3 separate regions of the Homo sapiens genome follow, and all the other regions are linked to region 3. The links are contacts of gene promoters, found by promoter capture Hi-C in blood cells and fetal thymus (Javierre and others, 2016). All regions are on one chromosome and are shown on one strand. Each heading gives the region's core, a stretch centred on a gene start or on the middle of the fragment in contact. The rest is flanking DNA. Distances are from core to core; before and after follow the strand shown. Region 1 overlaps FBXL13 (F-box and leucine rich repeat protein 13). Region 2 overlaps FBXL13 (F-box and leucine rich repeat protein 13). Region 3 holds the start of LRRC17 (leucine rich repeat containing 17).

Region 1 (3,722 bases), core at 32-2,531, 82 kb before region 3:
TTCCTCTTTCTCCCTCTAAACCTTTGATACAGAGTGATGCATTTCTTGCATATTTGTTTAACATCCCCCTTAGCTTCTGGGCTGCAAGACAATAGCCATGCACAGTTTACAGAAGGAATTCCCTCAGCCTTCATAACAAAAAACAAAAAACCAAAGCAAACAAACAAACAAACAAAATCCTCTGCCCTATTTTCTGTTTGCACTGGAGCCTTTTCTTTTCTCATTCTCCTACTTTCTGCTTTAGAGCCACTAAGAAACCCAGTCTCCATCTGTGCCTGCTTTATAGCCAGGGCAGTTCTCACTTCTCACTAAGCCATGTGTTGCCCATATGTCTGTGTGCTATGAACGCAAGAATCTCTGTGAACTATCACTGTTTAAGTTGCAGAGAGTCAGTTGGTCAGCGCTTCTAGTGTTCTGGGTCCCTTGACCCAGCTCACTAATAGAACCAGATGATGCTGACCAGAAAGACATCTGGTTCCCCTAGTTCTAAACAAGTATATTATTAAACAAAAATAATTTTGCTGTGAACTTTTTGGCTTAGTTTTGTCACGGTTTACCACATCTTTTTCCCTGCTGCCTCCTCCTTTTTATTGCAGCACAATTAGCTAACCATACAAACCAAACAACATAGAAGCTGAACTTCTAGATTAAATAAAGCGTAGGGCATCTTGAGAGTTGGTGTGATGCTGTAGTAAACAAAAGCCTTCAGTGTGTACAATAGAAGAGAACACGATTGTTAATAACCTTGTAATTTCTGAGGATTTTCAAAAAAATTTCTTAGTTTTCTTCCTTCTTCATATTTTGCTAACTCCAAGTTTTTCCTGTTAATTTGTGTTGATCAATATCTTCCACTTTAGAGACTTTCCTCTTATGTCTGGTAATCCTTTTGTTCACGATTAAGAGTGGAGGACTAAAAACTAATCGGAAGGTCAGAGTACACGCATCTCTATTGTAAGCTTCAATGAAGGATGATCTACGTGTGTTATTTGTTGGGAACCACCCCTGTCAGTCATTTTAGGTCTTTCATCTTGGGCTAGTCAGGGTTCCCAGAGAAGAGGCTACCAATCTCCCACCTGGAGAAGAAGATCTGGCAGCCAAGTTCTTGATGCTCAGTTGGAAAAAGTGCTTGAATATCTCTGCACTCAGCATTGAGTCACTTAGTTAGCCTAGCAACCCTCTGTTTTAGTATCTCTAGAGTAGTGGGTAATTCAAGAACAATTTTGGCCCTCACCTCCACCAGAGAACATGTGGTAAGGTCTGGAGGGATGGGATCTTATGTGCTACTGACATATAGTGAGTAGAGGGCAGGCATGCTGTTAAACATCTACAGTGCCCGGGACACACACACACACACACACACACACACACACACACACCCCACTACAGAGAGTTATCTTGTCCAAAATATGAATAGTGTCAGGGATGAAGAACCAGAATTTAGGAAATAAATCTCCAGGCTTCTGTTTGGGGTGGGGAGAGACAGTTGCCCAGATTTATGGAGTAGGGGCTGGAATCTAGAGATCTATCTACTTCTTAAGAATCTCTAACTCAGTCTCCCTTATTTTCATCCCCACTCTTAACCCAGTTCCAAAGGTACACGGTGCTCCCAAGCTTGAAGATTGTGGTGTAAATCAGATTTTTTTTTCCAGCTTTCTCTACTGTTGGCTTAGGATTCAAAGCAGTCTCTGGTCTGCTAAATTAGTCCATCTATTTTCAAGCTTCCAAATTTTTGTTGCTCTTATCTCCTCTCCTGTTTTCCTTATCCATATGGGCCCTCACTCTTCATCTCTAGTTCTGGTAGCGTTTCAAGAGGAACAAAATTATATGTGTATATTCAGTCTACTATTATTAATCCAGAACCTGAGATCTCTAGTTCTTTACATGGAGATATGTCCATAGTATATTAAAAAGTAGGTTACAATGTATTTTGGAAAGTATGATTCTATTATTTTAAAAAACAAGGCAAAACACAAACTTTCTGTAACTATTTCTAATCTTTTTGTGCATAGAAAAAAATCTAGAAGAATAAAATACCAGCGATGGTTATGTCCAGGTGGTGACAGGACAATGGATATTTACTTTCTCCCTTAAGCTTTTATATGTAGTCCAAATTTTTCATAATGAGTACTTACTTCATTTATATACAGAGGTCCCAGAAAAATTATAAAACACTTGAAAATAACACAAAAGATGATGGTATGTCCTTGGAGTGTCAAACTGGAACACTGTTTAACAGGCCTACCTGGAGAATTCTATAGGAAATCATGCCTTTGTTTGACATACCATTTACTGTCCACTAAGGCCCTAGCTCAATGAAGTTATATGTTGTTATATTTTTGTCCAGGAAAGATGCAAATTATTTGTATCTGGTATAAACTGTAACCCCAAGGTTATGGATTTAATAACTTGTAAAACACTTTTAGATCTAACCTAACACTCTTAATGCAACATTCTTTCATCAGTTCCTACAAATACTAAGTTCATTCAAATGCTCTACGCACTGGCTTTGTCATTTTGTTGGTTCTCTCATTAGTGAATTAAAGAAATCTTTGACACATGTTTATATTTGTATGAGAATTATGTTTTTAACTTTTGGAAAATTCTACTTTGACACCAGTGGAATCATAAGCTATTTCCAATTTGAGGATAGAAGAAAAAAATCCAATGAATACCTCAACCATGGCAAAGAGAACATATTCTGAGTCCAGCCCTGATCGCTGTCCTGCCTTGTCCCTTGGCAGTGCTTAAATTGGATGTGTTTGAGCCCTGACTCCTGCACATACCTTTGGACAGCCAGCAATGCTGAGAGATGTGAGGTTAATGCAGTAAATGGCCAGTGCTTTGATAATCATATCTGACAGCTGGGAGCAATAAGAGACATCCAAATGTTCCAAGATCAGTGAGCTTTTGCAGAATGCCTGCAAAAAATTCCAAGGTCAAATTTTTTCTTTTCTTTAGTCATCTAGAACTGTCTTACTTATAGTAGCTTATTAAATGTACATTTCAGTCCCTGAAATACAGATGTTAGATCTTGATGCCCCCAAAAAATAATTTAAAAAACCCATGTTACATCCAACATCTGTTTATAGCAAAAGATATTCACAAAGCAGCTTAACAGCTTAGTGATATTCAAATGCCTGCTAACAAAATTTGGTTTTCTTGAAGTTAGGTCTAATGAAGTTTGACTCATATGGTCAGTAATGAGTAGAAGAAAAGAAATCTGAGGGTAAGATTATATGGCAGACACTCCAAGATTGACAGTGGAATGTAATGGAAAGAACAGATTCTTTGGAATCAGACAGACCCGAGTTTTGCTTTCGTTTCCACCATTTATTACCTCTTAAATCTTAGCAAGTTACTATCTTTCTGAGCCTGTTTCCTTTTTTTTTTTTTTTTTGAGAGTCTTCCTCTGTTGCCCAGGCTTGGAGTGCAATGGTGCAATCTGAGCTCACTGCAACCTCTGTCTGCCAGGTTCAAGTGATCTTGTGCCTCTTGTGCCTATTGGGACTACAGGCGTGCACCACCACGCCCGGCTAATTCTTTTTTTTTTTTTTTAGTAGAGATGGGGTTTCTCTAGGTTGCCCAGGCTGGTCTTGAACTCCTGACCTCAAGTGATCCACCCTCCCAAAGTGCTGGGATTATAGGCATGAGCCACTGTGCCCAGCTCCTCTTTTTTAACTTAGGGAAAATAACATCTACTCTCTAGCATTGTTTTGAAATGC
Region 2 (3,596 bases), core at 298-2,797, 100 kb before region 3:
CTTTGTTTTGCCATATAATGTAACATTCATAGGAGTGATGGCCCATCACATTCAGTTTTCACTCCCACTCAAGGAAAGGAGATTATACAAAGGCATCCATCATGTGGGGACAATTAGCTTAGAATTCTTTATAATGTAGCTCTCACATGACAGGTTTTCTACTTAGTACCTTTTATGGCATCAATGTAAATTTAAGCTGTAAATAAAAAACAAATATGTGAAGCAGTTGCTACTGATTCTTAATATCTTTTGTGTAACTTAAGATATAGCTAATTAGGAAAAAAGAAACAGCTATTTTATAGCCTGATGTATGAAGATAGATTTTTATAAAGGTATACTGTATAAAGATATTTTATGAATTCCATTTCTTTCAAACATCTCTATTCCTGGAACATTTAAATTATATAATACTGGCCAGGCACAGTGGCTCATGACTGTAATCCCAGCAGTTTGGAGGCCAAGGTGGATGGATCACTTGAGGTCAGGAGTTTGAGACCAGCCTGGCTAACATGGTAAAACCCCATCTCTACAAGAAATACAAAAAAAAGAAAATTAGCTGGGTATGGTGGCTCATCCCTGTAATCCCAGCTATTTGGGAGCCTGAGGCAGGAGAATCGCTTGAACCTGGGAGGCAGAGGTTGCAGTAAGCCGAGATCACACCACTTTACTCCAGCCTGGACAACAGAGTGAAACTCCGTCTCAAAAAAATTAATTAAAATAAACAAATAAGTTATATAATACTATAACTATACTATAAGACCAGACCTATCTCTTGGTGATGTAGTTTGGATATCTGTCCCCCAAAATCTCATGATGAAATGTAATCCCCAGTGTTGGAGGTGGGGCCTGATTGGATCATGTGGGCAGATTTCTCATTAATTGTTACCACCACCTTCTTGGTTCTGTCCTCATGATAGTGAGTTCTTGCAAGATCTGACTGTTTAAAAGTGTGGGTATCTTCCCCGTCTCTCTCTTGCTCCTGCTCTTGCCATGTGATGTGCCTGCTCCCACTTTGCCTTCTGCCATGAGTAAAAGCTCCCTAAGGCCTCCCCAGAAGCCAAGCAGAGAGGCCCGTGCGATGCTTTCACAGCCTGCAGAACCAATTAAACCTCGTGAGTCAATTAAACCTCTTTTCTTTAGAAATCACCCAGCTTCAGGTATTCCTTTATAGCAAAACAAGAATGGCCTAAATCGCTTGGATTATATTTTTTATGATTAAGATAAGTCAGTTCTTTTTTTGTTTGTTTTTTGAGACAGGGTCTTGCTCTGCCACTCAGGCTGGAGTGCAGTGGCACAATCTTGGCTCACCGCAACCTCTGCCTCCGAGGTTCAAGCGATTCCCATGCCTCAGCCACCACAGTAGCTAGCATTACAGGTGCACGCCACCATGCCCAGCTAAGTTTTGTATTTTTACTAGAGATGGGTTTCACCATGTTGGCCAGGCTGGTCTTGAACTCCTGGCCTCATGTGATCTGCCTGCCTCAGCCTCCCAAAGTGCTGGGATTACAGGTGTGAGCCACTGCACCGGGCCAGGAGAAGTCCATTCTTAAACACTAATTTTTAATAAACCTTTCCAAATATTATTATTTATGATGATCTTTTTCTTTTTTTCAGACGAGGTCTCACTCTGTTGCCCAGGCTGGAGTGCAGTGGCATGATCATAGCTCATTGAAGCCTTAAACTCCTGGCCTCAGGCATCCTCCTGCCTCAGCCTCCTGAGTTGCTGGGATTACAGGCAGGTGCCACCATGCTCTAATTTTTAAATTTTTTATAGAGATGGGTTTTACTATGTTCATCAGGTCTCGAACTCCTGGCCTCCAGTTGTCCTTCTGCCTTGGCCTCCCAAAGTGCTGTGATTATAGGCATGAACCACTGTGCCCAGCCTCCTTTTCATTAATTTTCCATTTCTTTAGAGTTCTGTTTTTAACTTCTTATTTATGAAACAAAAGTCAGCTTTGTAGGATATCTCAGAGTCTCCTTTTAGTTCACCCTTCATGAAATCAGAATGTATACAAGTCTGAAAGATACTCACACATTGGTATATTTGGTATGGTTGTGGTGTGTTATACTATTAAGTAGAGGAAACTGTGTAGCAGTGAGGCAGTTTTGATAATCTTTTTTCACCCTCATGCAATTACATAAACATTTTCATGACTAAAAATAAATTAGCTAACCACAGCCAGAAAAGTCATAAGCATAACAGCAGTCAACTATATTTAAAGCTACTAATGGAATTGTACATATTTGGATCACATTGTTAAGTCCCAGACAAAAAGAAAAAGCTGCCATAATTTACTCTCTTGGACACAGACCTATGAATATGAAATACGTAAGGGCTAAAGACCTAACTAATATCTTTGATATTTTGAGTAGTTTGCATCGAAAACTTAAAAGATTTCTCTACCTGTATCCCTATTCTTGGTCTCCTTTCATAGCTCACTTTTTCTACTCCTTTTCTTCATTTATGTAGCTGTAAAATTTGTCTCCCCAGAATGAATGAATGTGTCTTCTGTTCTTGTTTAAGAAAGGATGTTACTCAAAGAGCTTTGGAGCAAGCTCTGAATGTAAAGCAACCTGCTAGGTTTCTGGAGAACATAACAGGGTGTGTTTCTTACCGGGGTCTAACCAGTGCAGGTGTCATTCCTTTAGAAAGCAATTGCCTCTTTTATAAGTTCCACCAGTTGTGTGCATGAAGCACTTAGGGATCAGATTTTTGAAAACATCTTTAATGCAGCTGCCAGAAATTTCCAAATTTAGGTTAAAATCATACTCTTATGTCATCTTATGTCTCTTGGCTATGGTCTAAAACTTCCCACTCAAATGATTCTGTTGCCTGTGTGCCCACTCCTAGGAACCTTTCCACAGCTAAGTAATATTACCTTATTTCAAAAACTTTGCAAGTCAACCTCAGTGGGGGAGAATTACTAAAAGCATTTAGCTAATACAAGGTAGCCTATAATAATACTTTGTACAATCTTTTTAAAACTTTTCAAAATAACGATGCTTTATCTTAAGTTTTTAATCCTTATTTGAAACTTGTGGGATACAAAAAGAGAATTAACTCCACGTGAGAGATAAGTAATTGAGGAAATAGAAAGGTTAAAAGGCTGATCTGATATTGCTGACAAGGCTTGTTTGCGGCAGTCAGAACAGAGTTGTGTTTTCTCTTGGACTGTGTCAACATCAGTGTTACATAATATCAAATAATGGTAAAAACCCACAGATGTGCTCACTTCGGCAGCACATATACTAAAACCTACGGATTAAAGCTTATTAAAAACTAATATGTAGATATGCAATTAATAACCCATACTTCCTAGCATAAAATTGAGGGAGCATCTTTTTTGGCATAGCATAGTTTAAGAATTCCTCCGTTGTGCAAATTTGATTAAAGAGATGTCTTTCTGAGACATTGCAGGGACATTCTTTCTATTCAGATAGTTCTTGTTTCTATTTAATTTGCCCCTGACTAAGTCAAATGTTGAGATAAGTACAGAGTTAATTGGCGGCATTTAGTTCTCTTTTGTTGTTAAATGTCTGGAAACCACAGAAAAGCCACATTTCCTTTGAAAATATTAATATATGTCTGTATTCTT
Region 3 (3,242 bases), core at 379-2,878:
CACAACGGCGAGTTAGAAAAGTACTGAAGGATTTATAGTTAAGGGGCAGGCTTATCAGTGGGATATGTCAAGCACATTAAGTTGTTCCTGAGTTTGCAAATATTTTTCTCTGTGATTGGGCCATTGGCATTTGCTAATTGGTGCCCATCAAAGTTAGGCTTCTACCCACCCACAGGAACTGAGAGATATCTTCTTTGATGATTATATATCAAAGGGATAGATCCCAGGTCCTTGAGGAAGACTTTCCTGAGTTGTAAAACTGTCAAGAAGCTTTTGTTAAAAAGACATCTCAAAGTAGGCAGAGAAAGAACTTATAATTCCAAGTTTTCTAAAACAAATGCTCTAAGAAACAAGAAAACAAGAAGTCAGGGCCTAGAGTCAGTAAGAAGCTGGTCTAAAATTCAGTCATGCTGAGGAGAACGTCAATGCCATCTCAGTCATAAAGTTATGGTAGATGTTGATGTTTAAAAAGCTACACATCAGCAGATCAGTTTTAAACAAATATGAATGTTAGATGTTTACAGCCCTAACTTAGAATCCTCCCCTCCTTGCCCCAACTCCCTCCAGACCACCCAGGGCATCAGGATACCACAAGATGTCAGTGGAGGTGACTAGGTAAGAATTCTATCCATTCAAGAACCCTGGGGGAGAAACCCATGCTGCCCCTGTATTTCCCACTATCCCAGGGAACTCTGCCTGCCCCAGTATCTAGCAACAGATGCTTAAAACTGTACTAGTACCATGTGCTTTCATCAGCTGTGCAAACTTGGGCAACTTATTCAACCACCCTGAGCCTTGGTCTCTTCATTTGTAAATAAGCATAGTAAATACATACCACCACAGCACTGTATCAGAAGTAAATCTGATCTGTGTATAGCACTCAACACAATGCTTGGCATATGGTAATGACTCAAGAAATGATAACTATCAATATTTCAGCCAGTTCTCACCTATGCTATTATTCTCATAGAATAATGAACATACTATGACACCAAATTAATAAAATACACAGAGAGGCAGAAGAAAATAAGTTAAAAGAATTATGGCTTAAATCTTTTGAAATTAAAGCAGAAGAAACTATCAATGAGGCAGTAGCTACATCCAAAGCGCCATGCCCTATCCTCTGCAACTTGATCCAATTTTCTGCCCAACTTTCCAAGTCCTGTTCCCTCAAACTTAAAATATTTTCCCACGCAGATCTCAAATCTTCATGTTATTCAGCCCAACGGTGTAATGCAATTTTTTAAATTATGAGTTTTTGTTGTATTTTCTTTTCCTATTTATCACTTATAGCATTTTACCCCCCCCCCCCCAAAAAAAAACCCATGTGGGAGTTAATTGACTTTTCAGGAATCCCATGCAAAATTCTCCCTCAAAACATTCTCTTTGTTTGTGTCTTGGTAGCAACTCCAGAGTTTTCAGGACTTGGACTCTGCTTTAGACTTGTGCTCAGACTGTCTCCACAAAAGTGGTCCGTTTCCTCATCCAATGAGCTCTGCCTGTTTGTCTGTGTGACACTCCAGTGGAAGGAAGCCAAGAGCCTATAATAGCGATCCTGGGGAAAATTTCAGCAGCTGGGGCCATGTAATTTAAAACCTCTGAAAAGTGTGCTGCGGTCCGTGCACAGCATTAGTATAACGTGAGGGCTGAATGCAGCCCATTCTCTGGAGAACTTCCTCACACACCGCAGCAAAGAGAAGACTGAAAGACAAACCTGGGTGCAGCCAGAGAGGTCCAGATAGATGAGCTTGTGGCATCCATTCCCCAAGTTCAGGTACTGTAAGCCTTTGTCTGTGAACCGTCTGCAATAAGCCAAACTAAGATTCTGTAAGTTGTGGAAGTGCCTGAAAAGACAAAAGAGAGGAAGGAAAGTATTATACTTCCGTTGTTCTCTCAAATCTTTCTTAAGCCACTATGACAAAGAAAACTGTAAATTCAACTCTTCTTCTTGCAGATGTTCAACATTTAACTTTACTGTTAACTCTCTACCTGTTAATTAAAGGAGACTACAGTGTTATATAAGGTAACACACAATACATTTAATACCTTGTAATACATTTCAAGTGAAAGTATTAATAGTTCAATAATATTTGCCTAGATATTTAAGAAAGTTGACTGGGATAAAGCTTTTTTGGTGTGTGTGAGGTGGGGGAGGCAATCATATTGTTTGGAAGTGAAACCAAATTTGCAGAGTGTATTGTTGCTTTTAGGTTTTATCTCTGGAGTACCAAAATAATGTGCAAAATATATAAAAGGACAAATCCTTTGTAAACATTTAAATGGAGACTGTTACAGGAGAGTGAGGATTTGGGACAGAAGGCAAAACTGAATATGACCATGCTCTTAAAATAGATCTGATAAGCAAATGAGTTTAAAAAATAGGTTTAAATATGCATGAGTTTGTGACAGTTTCATTATTATAGTTAAAGAAAGACTAATTGATATGCAGAGTTTAAGCATGGATTAAGAAGACCAGTTTGCAAATAAGCAGGCAACACATGAGAAGAATCAAAAGCAACATCAGAGACTATAAATCTCGCTGGAGTTGAAACAGATTAAATATGGTATTACCACAATGACCAAAATGACAGCTTCCAGAAAAAAGTAGGGTAGTTAGGATGAGCCTGTACTACCATACGAGGGCTCGCAGTTTGAGGACACTCCGTGGACAATTTCCCAAGCCCTCCAAAGCCTGGAACTTTTTTTTGAGACGAAGTTTCGCTCTTGTTGCCCAGCTGGAGTACAATGGTGAGATCTTGGCTCACTGCAACCTCCTCCCCACTCCCCCAACCCCTGGTTCAAGCGATTCTCCTGCCTCAGCCTCCCAAGTGGCTGGGATTACAGGCGCGTGCCAACATGTCCAGCTAATTTTTGTATTTTTAGTAGAGACAGGGTTTCACCATGTTGGCCAGGCTGGCCTCGAACTCCTGACCTCAGGTGATCCACCCGCCTTGGCCTCCCAAAGTGCTCGGAACAGGCATGAGCCACCGTGCCCAGAAAGCCTGGCACTTTTTAAGAGGTCAAGGATTCCCACTACTATCTGCTCTTCTAATGGAATTAGCAATCATGCTCTTAGTTTGTGATATGCAACAGCTTAATAGCAAATTAGAAAGCAAAAAGAATGAAAAGTGAGGAGAAAATGCTTCTCTGCCTCTCAAAATCACACAGGTGAATAAAGTTTACCTCCCATAAATGGGAAATAAGATATACAAGCACTGACCATTAATCAGATTTTGAAAAAC

Evidence for each region. The method cuts DNA at HindIII sites, captures the fragments that hold promoters and counts their contacts. A CHiCAGO score of 5 or more calls a contact.
Region 1: a contact is called between a fragment that was not itself captured here and the fragment with the promoter of LRRC17 in region 3, in 3 of 17 cell types (M2 macrophages, megakaryocytes and M0 macrophages). The highest score is 6.6, in M2 macrophages.
Region 2: a fragment that was not itself captured here is called in contact with the fragment with the promoter of LRRC17 in region 3 in 5 of 17 cell types (megakaryocytes, M2 macrophages, M0 macrophages and 2 more); the score reaches 9.4 in megakaryocytes.

What each region holds. Positions count from the first base shown.
Region 1 is chr7:102,830,057-102,833,778 of GRCh38, forward strand. FBXL13 (F-box and leucine rich repeat protein 13) reads right to left here. Exons shown (of 21, transcript NM_001394494.2): 19 at 2,784-2,918. It also overlaps a transcript of FAM185A not described here. Among named protein-coding and RNA genes, the nearest start is that of LRRC17, 81 kb to the right of the region's middle. The HindIII fragment of the contact is 655 bases long and covers 955-1,609 here.
Region 2 is chr7:102,809,001-102,812,596 of GRCh38, forward strand. FBXL13 (F-box and leucine rich repeat protein 13) reads right to left here. Exons shown (of 21, transcript NM_001394494.2): 21 at 2,189-3,596. FAM185A (family with sequence similarity 185 member A) reads left to right here. Exons shown (of 8, transcript NM_001145268.2): 8 at 1-225. Among named protein-coding and RNA genes, the nearest start is that of FAM185A, 62 kb to the left of the region's middle. The HindIII fragment of the contact is 3,439 bases long and covers 1-3,267 here.
Region 3 is chr7:102,911,372-102,914,613 of GRCh38, forward strand. It overlaps LRRC17 (leucine rich repeat containing 17), which reads left to right and starts at 1,629. Exons shown (of 4, transcript NM_001031692.3): 1 at 1,629-1,774. FBXL13 (F-box and leucine rich repeat protein 13) reads right to left here. Exons shown (of 21, transcript NM_001394494.2): 12 at 1,715-1,844. The HindIII fragment of the contact is 1,856 bases long and covers 269-2,124 here.